Linked DNA regions of Homo sapiens: regions 1 and 2 are each linked to region 3. The links are contacts of gene promoters, found by promoter capture Hi-C in human tissues and cell types (Jung and others, 2019). All regions are on one chromosome and are shown on one strand. Each heading gives the region's core, a stretch centred on a gene start or on the middle of the fragment in contact. The rest is flanking DNA. Distances are from core to core; before and after follow the strand shown.

Region 1 (3,104 bases), core at 567-3,066, 210 kb after region 3:
GCAAAGAGATCTGAGGAGATGGGGACATGCTCAAACATGTCAGTTTCCTTTGCTCAGGAAGCCCATCAAGCAGAAACATGAAAATACTCTCTTCCCGACAGTAAGTAGATGAATAAATGTAGATTTGTGATAGTGTCACCCAGAGTAATAAAAATATAGAACATTCAATGAAAAGCCAAGAAATAGAACAATATATTAAGTATAATCTTACATATGTGAAATTAGTAAGCTAAAGATTAACATGACTAGCTCTTGGGAAAGAGAATGGATGTAGTAGTTTTTAAAAAGTAATTTTCATTTTAACTATTTACACTTATTATTTGATTTGGGGTAGAACTAGGGGTGATTTTTAAATTTTCTTCTTTATTTTCCAGATTTCTTATAAGAAATATATATATTTGTTTTATAATGTCACCTTTTTAATAGTCAAAAACATTTCATTCATCAAATGTTTCTCACACTTCAAGACAGCCATGAGATTAATAAATTGTGTCCGTTATCATTTACTATGTAATTAGGTTTCTCGCTTATTCCAAAAGATAATTGGTACATCATTGTTGATGGAATGAGCTTCTCTTCTGGCATCTGTTCATCAATGTTTGTTTGTTTCACATTAACTTTTAAAACCTCATCAACTTAGCAATATTTATAAAGCATCTATTACATACTTGGGATTATAAATGGCACTGAAGTTACAAAAAATTGCAGTTGGTCCTTCCTAAAGAGCTCACAATCTACAGAGAGTAAACGTCCTGTGCTAAAACATATCATAATTCCCTGATAAACAACGGCATGGGAAATAAGCATGGTGTGGGCCATGCACAGGGAGGCTAAAGAGAAATAGAAAATGTTTCACAAACAGGTATCATTTGAAATAGTTCCTGAAGATACCAATCATATCACATTGCAGCTAAAGGGAATCAGAACAGTAGGCAGTTTTTTATCAACCCACTGAAGAATATTAAGAAGCAGCTTAATCTCAATTTGTTATCTGATTTTTAAACCAAATGAGATAACACAAGTTTCCAGCACATCAGAGAAAGTTAGTTCATGAGGAGACAGAGTATGCATGTGATTGAAATGAGTGGGGTCTCTCAAATTGTTATTATTACAAGTTGGGGTAGCTGTCTAGGTATATATTATTCTTAACTCTTAAGTAGTAAGTCCTGTGTAACATAGATGTGTTTTTTGCGTTTTGTTTTTGTTTTTGAGACAGAGTCCCACAATGTCACCCAGGCTGGAGTGCAGGGCACAATCTCTGCTCACTGCAACCTCTGCCTCCAAAGTTCAAGTGATTCTCCTGCCTCAGCCTCCAGAGTAGCTGGGATTACAGGCTCCCACCACCAAGCCGGCTAATTTTTGTATTTTTAGTAGAGATGGGCTTTTACCATGTTGATCAGGCTGGTCTCGAACTCCTGACCTCAAGTGATCTGCCCACCTTGGCCTCCCAAAGTGTTGGGATTACAGGCATGAGCCTGATGCCTGGCCAGATGTTCTTGACAAAAGTAAAATAGAGAATAACTTGGTGGTTAAATTTTAAAGCTTAAGTTCCTTTGGTTCAGTGAAAAGAACTGGGCTACTGCTGTGTCCACTCTTCATTACTCTAACAGAGACTCAAGTGAGGGGGACCCAGTGAGAGCAGGGGGAGTCAGAAGAGAGTGAGGCTTAATTAAGTCAGTAAATCTCAAAATGTGCTCCTCAGACCAGTAGCCTCAGAACCATCTGGGAATGGCTGGAAATGCAAATTCTCAATCCCCACTCCAGACCTACTAAATCAGAATCTCTCAGGGTGGGGCCCATCCATTTGTGTTTTACCAAGCGCTTCAGTAGTTCTGCTGCCCACTGGACACCCAAGTTTGAGAATCACTGCACTAAGGTAAGAGCTCATTCATAAACATGCCAACAGTTAGTGGCTTTAATTTCACCAGCTACCTTCAACTTATGTATTAGTAAGAAGGAAACATGGCAGACAGGAGAATTTAAGCAAGAAAGGTTTTTTTTTGCTATTTTTCTCAAATAAATGTATGCAAATATTTAATAGAGGGTACACAAGTAAAAATACTCTTTTCATTTTAAATAAAATAGACCTGCAAGTGGTGGAATGAATGTTTCAGTCCTATTGCCTCTTGGGCTTCAGAGAATCAGTGGAAGCTGCAGCAGAACCAGTCTTCACAATGATAAAGCAAACTATCCTGGATTTGTCCTGACTTGAGGAAACCAGGGTGACGCTCCTTGCCCCAAACACATGTCCACCATCCACAGGCCACATGATCAAAATTCCATCATGAAGACATTTTTTTCCGGCTTAAACTAAGCATTCTCTGAGTATCTAAACTTACATACGCAAATCCCTCCCCCATTCCGCCACCCAAAGAAGAACACCTTAAATTGTCACCAGTTTGATTCAACCATGGATTCATCAATCATAATCTCTTCTTCTGAAATGAGAAGTCCAGAAAGGAGTATACGCCAGGTATGTGGGGAGCAGAATAATGTAGCTAAGTGAGGTGGGGACATCAGTCATTGGAAATAAATTTCAACTTCTTCACCCACATAAGACCCTGGATTCTTCGGAGTCTAATTCTGGCCTAACTTTAAATAAGCCCTCCACCCTTTCAATGCCTCAAATTTCCAGCTGTCTAAAGTCTCTCAAGTTTAGGGTTTTAAAAATACTTGGTGGTCTTTGAATGTTAAGTAGGTAAAGAGAAAAAAAAAAACTCTAAATTTAGAGTGTGTGGGAGCTGGGCATTCTGGCTAACTTCACTCATGACTCCTATTACCAGTGCCAGTCTAAAGATCATCTAGAGTTCTGGATGAAGTGAGGGAAGTCATTTGTCCAGCACTCAAATATTATCTCCAGGTGACAGCTTATTTTACCCCAGTGAAGGAAAAGACTGACTAAATTATAGTCAAATATTCATGGATGTTCAAAGCTTTGCATTACTCTTATAAAAATAGAGATACAAATAGTCTCTATTTTTATAGAGACTAAACTGTGGGGAGGAGGCAAGTGTTATTTTCAGTGACCTTCACTACCTATATTGTTTATTTTAGATACTTTTGTCTCCTCATACGAAATATTCTGATAAGGCAGGAAGAAAGAG
Region 2 (2,958 bases), core at 361-2,860, 230 kb after region 3:
GAGATAGCCTCAGTCTCCTGGTGTTTAAGCAAACCCAGTGAATTTTAAAAATTAATCTCATTTTATAATTCATCAACCAGCCACCAATTAAACAAACATATACCGAGTGCCTGTTATTGTCAGGAACTGTGTGAGATGCTGGGTTTACAGTGATAAATGTGATATAACTCCAGCTCTCAGGAACTCAGGATCTGGCAAGAATGCCCTAATGACATAGTCATGTGGTACAGCCATCTTGGAAGGCTAGCACAAGTAATTTGCTATTGATAAGAAAGTACTAAAGTTGGTGAAATGTTTACTTTTTAAAATTTGTTATAAAAAACAGATTATTATCCTTATAACTTTGTAGTCATTTACTGTCATTGTGATATACATTATTTAGCAGGAATAAAAGGGCTAGAGTTACAAATCATAAACTACAAATAATCCACACACTATCTTGTCTTTGCTACAGCTCACCATCTGGGTAAATCAATGGGGGTGTGTCAGCAAATAAAAATTATCTATAACATGTCCAAGTAGGAAAAAGTTGACAAGCATGAGTCCAGAGGCCAATGGGAGAGGGAGACACACAGATAAGCAATAATTACAAGATAGACTGTTAAGTGCTATAATAAGCACTTGGTATATGCATAGGAAGCTGTCAGCATGCAGAGTATCTAATATAGTCTTAGGGGTAAAAGAGAAAACTATGCAGATAGGAGAGGGTGGGGTTAGGGTCAGAGGAAACCATACGAGATATAGCTAATATGGGATAAGACTGATCAAGGTGGGCAGAAACAGGAGCTGAATTGGGACAGCTTAGGCAGAGCACCGGCTGGGGACCTGGGTCTCATACATCTTAAAGCAAAACAGAATTTGGAGTTTGAGCTCTCAAGTTAAACTGGAGAAACCTGGCAAAGCTCACAGTCCAGTACACAGGCTGCAGTCAACTTCCAGAGGTACAAGGACAGCGGGGGCCAGTCAGGCTGCACAGCACAGGCAAAAGCATGGTGGCATGGGTCAGAGGTCAATATTTGGGCTCAGCATTTGGAGAAATAATCTGGAAAGAGAGTCTCTGCAACCATGAGAACACGCAGGACCACAGAGCAGCAGGGGCAGGGTATAAGTGTGAGGCCAAGATAGGCCTGTCTGACCTGTGCTCTTGCAATAAGCTCTGATTTGGGTATGGTATGTGGAAGATAAGGGCTAGCAAGTGTGTGCAGCTCCAGAATCAAGCAAGTAGAAGATGTAGAATAAAAATAATACAGTGGGCAGGTGCGGGTGGCTCATGCCTGTAATCCCAGCACTTTGGGAGGCTGAGGCAGGCAGATCACGAGGTCAGAAGATCGAGACCATCCTGGCTAACACGGTGAAACCCCGTATCTACTAAAGATACAAAAAAAAAAAAAATAGCCAGGCGTGGTGGCGGGCACCTGTAGTCCCAGCTACTTGGGAGGCTGAGGCAGGAGAATGGCATGAACCCAGGAGGTGGAGCTTGCAGTGAGCCAAGATTGCACCACTGCACTCCAGCCTGGGGGACAGAGCGAGATCCTGTCTCAAAAAATAATAATAATAATAATAATAATAATAATAATAATAATAATAATAATACAGCAATATCCCCGCCACTGAAAAGCTGCCTAATAAAGGAGAAAGAAACAGGTAAGCAAACAAGCTCTAGAGATGCTGTGACAGAGCTTGTACAGGTGTAGAAGAGTGCAAAAGAGGAAGTGGTTGATTCAGCCTGGCAAGAAAGCCTTCATGACACATTCATGTGGTTGCATAAAGTTTTGAAATGTAGGTGACTAGTGACTAGACTTGGAAGATGAGTAGGTGTTTGCTTGGCAGACCTCAGAAGAAAAGGGCCACTGGGAAAGACATTCTGACCAAAGGAAGCTGCAGCATGAGCAGGAGTCAGTTGCACACATGGAGCAGTCTGGAGCATCAGGGACAGTGTCTTAGTTCATTTGTGTTGCTATAGAAGAGTACCTGAGGCTGGGTTATTACAAAGAAAAGAAGTATATTTGGCTTACAGTTCTGCAGGCTGCAAAAGAAGCATGGCACCAGTATCTGCTCCTGGTAAGGCCTCAGGAAGCTTCCAATCATGGCAGAAGACAAAGTGGGAGCAGATTTGTCACATGGCAAGAAAGGAGGAGGAGAAGGAGAGGGACAGAGATTGAGAGAGGGAAGGAAAGTGCTATGTTCTTTTTAACAATCAGATCTCATGGGAACTAACAGAGCAAGAGCTCACTCATTACCTCAATGATGGCACCAACCCATTCATAAGGGATCCACCCTCATGATCCAAACACCTCCCACCAGTCCTCACCTCTAACAATGGTGATCAAATTTCAACATAAGATTTGGAGGACACAAATATTCAAACTCTATCAGTTAGCGTGTGGACAAAACATTGAGTCAGGATGGACTTCATAATTTGTGGAGTACAGTGCGGAGAGATTTTTGAGCCTGAGACTCTGCACAGAGGGCAGAGTGGAGTGGGACTAGTTTAGATTTTATTGTGTAAGTCACTAAAGTTATTTTAAATTTTCATTTAACAGCTTTATTGAGATATAATTCACATACCTATGATTCACCCATTTAAAGTGTACAATTCATTGATTTTTAGTTTATTTACACATATGTGGAACCATCACCAGTCCATTTTAGGTTTTCATCATGTCAAAAAGAAATCTCACAGCCTATGTCTTCCACTAGCCCTAAACAACCACTAGCCTACTTTGTCTCTATAGATTTATCTGTTCTGGACATTTGTTCTGTGTGGGAAATGCACGAGGGGAGAAGAAAAGACACAAAAACAATATGTTTAGGGGTAAACAACCTTTATCCCATGTAAATGGCAATGCAGATATAATAAGCAAATGATATAATAAGCAAATTGCAATGGGAAGGGGAGAAGGAAAAAGATATATATATATTTACACTAAATATATGTATTATATATATATTTACACT
Region 3 (3,157 bases), core at 463-2,962:
CAGGGTGTGAAGAGCCGGAACATGGGGCTCAAGAGCGGGGCGGCCGGGTTATAGAATTTTCTGGGGTATAAACACCCTCTAGAGGTTTCCCATTGGCCACTTGGTGTACACCCCACGCAAATATAGTGGCCCACAATCAGTCTGATAGCGGAAAGCAACCAATCAGAGCCTGAAGCGAAGTTACAAAGGTTACACCCTATGCAAACATTTAATTAGTTATGGAAAGCAACCAATCCGAGGTACTTTCAATTTTCCGTCTGCCACGCAGAAAAGGGCGGTGGTGGGGGAGGGGGCCGGGTCCCTTTGTTACTTAGCTGTGGAAAGTTGGGGCTTTCCTTTTGATTTAGTTCTAGAAAGTCAGCATGAATCAGCCGTAAGTTCCTTGCCTCCAGACCCTATTGTCCTGCCTCACAGCTATGTAGTACAGAGTCTGTCACAGGCTACCCAGAAATGTACACAGAGACTGTTAACAGGCTACAGAACAGATTGGGAAAGGGCTCTGGGGTTGTGACCCTCACCAAGCACAGGCATCTTGCATCTCTGACATGTTAATGGTGGATGCCAGCACTCTCACTACTGCCTCGGAAGCTTACCTTGCTGTTAGGGATGGGTTCTCGATCTCTACACTTGCTATACTCCTACAGGTGACCTGGGAGTGTAGCTTTCTGTGCCTTTTTTGACTCATGGCTTCCAGCGGGTACACATGATTAGTTAAACAAGTGTTCAGCATTTCAGCGGCAGCCATTAGACTCTTAACTCAGGTGGGGAATTCTCCAAATACGGAAGGGGATTCAAATGGGGGGCATAATAAATGTATATAAATGTCCATTAAAGGCAAGTTGAGTTGGAAGTGATGACAATATATTTGAGTAGAAACATCTAGCAGGTAGTTGGAAATGTGGCACTCGTGTTCCCCAGAGAGCTAGTTACAGATTTGGGAAGTTGAGTTGTGATTGCTTTTAAAATCAGGAGTCTAGAGAGAATCTAACTCAAAATTTTCATCCACATATGCAGAATCTCAATCTGAGAGTTGTTCATTCCTATAGATGTGCTGGCCACACCAACCCCCAACATCTATTATGAAAATTAGGAAATTCACACTCTATTATGGAAAATAGGAAAAATATATAGATAATACATGCAAAACAAGTGGGAGGAGAGAACTACGGATCGTGGAGAGCCTATTGCATATTATTATTTTACAAATATTTAAGTGCCAACTATGTGTCAGGCACTATGCTAAGGTGATTTAATGTTGAGCAAAACCCGACATGTCCCTGCATTTGAGGAACTGAAAGGTCTGAGGGAGGGCCTAAGGAGCTTGGGCCTTAGCTGGTTACAAAGCCATATATTATGCCATATATATTAATGAGCAGCAACGCCTCCCGCAGTATTTACAGCCCACGCGTGGCAGTCCTGTCCACCCTGTCCCCGTTCGGTCCAGCCCGAGGCGGTGGCCTAGATGCTTGATGGGCACTGTCAGCCTGATCTTTGGTGGTCTTCCCGCTGTCTGTTCTCAGCTGCTGATTCCAGGTCCCAGGAGTCGACTTTGGCTTGAGGAAGGCAGGCGCCTTAGGTGGGGCAGTTGACACTCGCGCAGCGCCTTGCTCACCTGAGTGTGTGGCGGCGCGCGGGTTTGGGCGGGGAGGGGGCCGGGCCTCGGGAAGGAGGCGCGCCGCGCAGTTTGACCCCGGCGGCGTTCCGTACCGTCGCGGATTTCGGCGGCGGAAACATGGCGGTCGCGGCCGGGCCGGTAACGGAGAAAGTTTACGCCGACACTGGCCTGTATTAGCGCGTATGGCCTCGGGCCCTCGTTCCCCAAGGCGTGCCGCCTCCCTGTTCTCAGTCGCAGGCTGAAGCCTTGTCTGCTCTCCTCCTTTTTGGTTTGGTTTTGGAACTGACTCCGAGGGTTGGGAGAGCGCGTTGGTGGCGACGGCCGAGTCAGGTAGGGAGAAATGGGTGGACGGCAGGGCGGCGAGATCTAGGCATAGACACTGCCAGGGCTCCGCGTGGTCCGGACCCCAAGCTCCGCCCAGTCGGCCTCCCAGGGCCGGGGTAGGATACCTGCCTCTGGAGGAGTTGACAGTGGTGGTTGGAGATTGGAGGGTGTGGGAGCGCCTCTCCGTATTTCGCAAGGGTTCCCCCTCAACTGGGCGCCACGTTGTGGTCGCGTTCTCCGAGGCAGAGGATGGTGGAGAACAGCCAAGCTCCTTGTCGGACCTCCCACATCTCGCTAGAAGGAGGCCGAAAGGGAGAGAAATTGCTGTTGCTGCTCTAGTGCTGAGGAGTTTGATATTCTAGATGACATTTTCCTCGTATGAGATGGCTCAAAGAGTTATCAGTAATTCAGAACTGAAGCACTGAAATTCCCTGTTTTTTCAGTGTAGTTCTTTCAGCCTTGACACTTCTAGATGGGACAGAGTTTCTGAGTGAAAGATAATGCAAGTGATACGGTATGCCTCAAGCCATTCCCTAGAGGTAGGACATGGAGAGAGAATTGGTTTGGAAGAATTTGGGTGAATTAAGTAAAGACTGGTGGAAAGCTGAAATAGAAACCAAACATTCATGGACTCTCCCTTAGTTCTACTAGTTATTAGTTGTGGGATATAGCTAAGTTCTGTATTCTCTTTAGGCATTAGTAAGTGTCCAATGGTGACTATTGTTGTTAAATGTAGTTATTTCTTTATTAGTCTTTATTTTTCAACAAGTATTTATTGAATACCTTCTTGATGCCGGATTTTTGCTAGTCACTGGGTGTACAGTATTGAAGACAAACCCTCAGAGACCTTTTGATCTAGTGGGAAATGCAGACATGAAATAAGTGATGGTATGTAACAGAGAAAGTATGGGGGTCATGTAATGGGGAGGGGGCAGGGATAATCTCTTAAGAAAATGATTTATCTGAGACCTGAAGAGTTGGAATAAGCCAGGTGTGAGCACTGGGGTGGGGCCAGGAGGAGGAAAAGGAGTGTACCTGGCAAGGGAATAGCATTTGTGCAGTTTGTAATTGAAAGGTCAGTAAGGTTGGAAAATAAAGTGTGAGAGGAAAACTGGTAACAGATAAGGCAGGAGAGTTATTCAGGCCCAACACGGAGTGCCTTATAAGGCACTGTAAGGAGTTTTGACTTTATTGCTAAGGGTGATGGGACGCCATTGG

Evidence for each region. The method cuts DNA at HindIII sites, captures the fragments that hold promoters and counts their contacts. A contact is called where the count stands out against the background at its distance.
Region 1: a fragment that was not itself captured here is called in contact with the fragment with the promoter of TMEM168 in region 3 in 1 of the 25 tissues and cell types used here (spleen).
Region 2: a contact is called between a fragment that was not itself captured here and the fragment with the promoter of TMEM168 in region 3, in 1 of the 25 tissues and cell types used here (mesendoderm cells).

What each region holds. Positions count from the first base shown.
Region 1 is chr7:112,581,418-112,584,521 of GRCh38, reverse strand. No RefSeq gene overlaps it. Among named protein-coding and RNA genes, the nearest start is that of LINC03076, 35 kb to the left of the region's middle. The HindIII fragment of the contact is 6,242 bases long and covers 1-3,104 here.
Region 2 is chr7:112,555,661-112,558,618 of GRCh38, reverse strand. No RefSeq gene overlaps it. Among named protein-coding and RNA genes, the nearest start is that of LINC03076, 61 kb to the left of the region's middle. The HindIII fragment of the contact is 4,517 bases long and covers 1-2,958 here.
Region 3 is chr7:112,788,948-112,792,104 of GRCh38, reverse strand. It overlaps TMEM168 (transmembrane protein 168), which reads left to right and starts at 1,712. Exons shown (of 5, transcript NM_022484.6): 1 at 1,712-1,945. RefSeq lists an enhancer at 1,324-1,453. The HindIII fragment of the contact is 15,678 bases long and covers 1-3,157 here.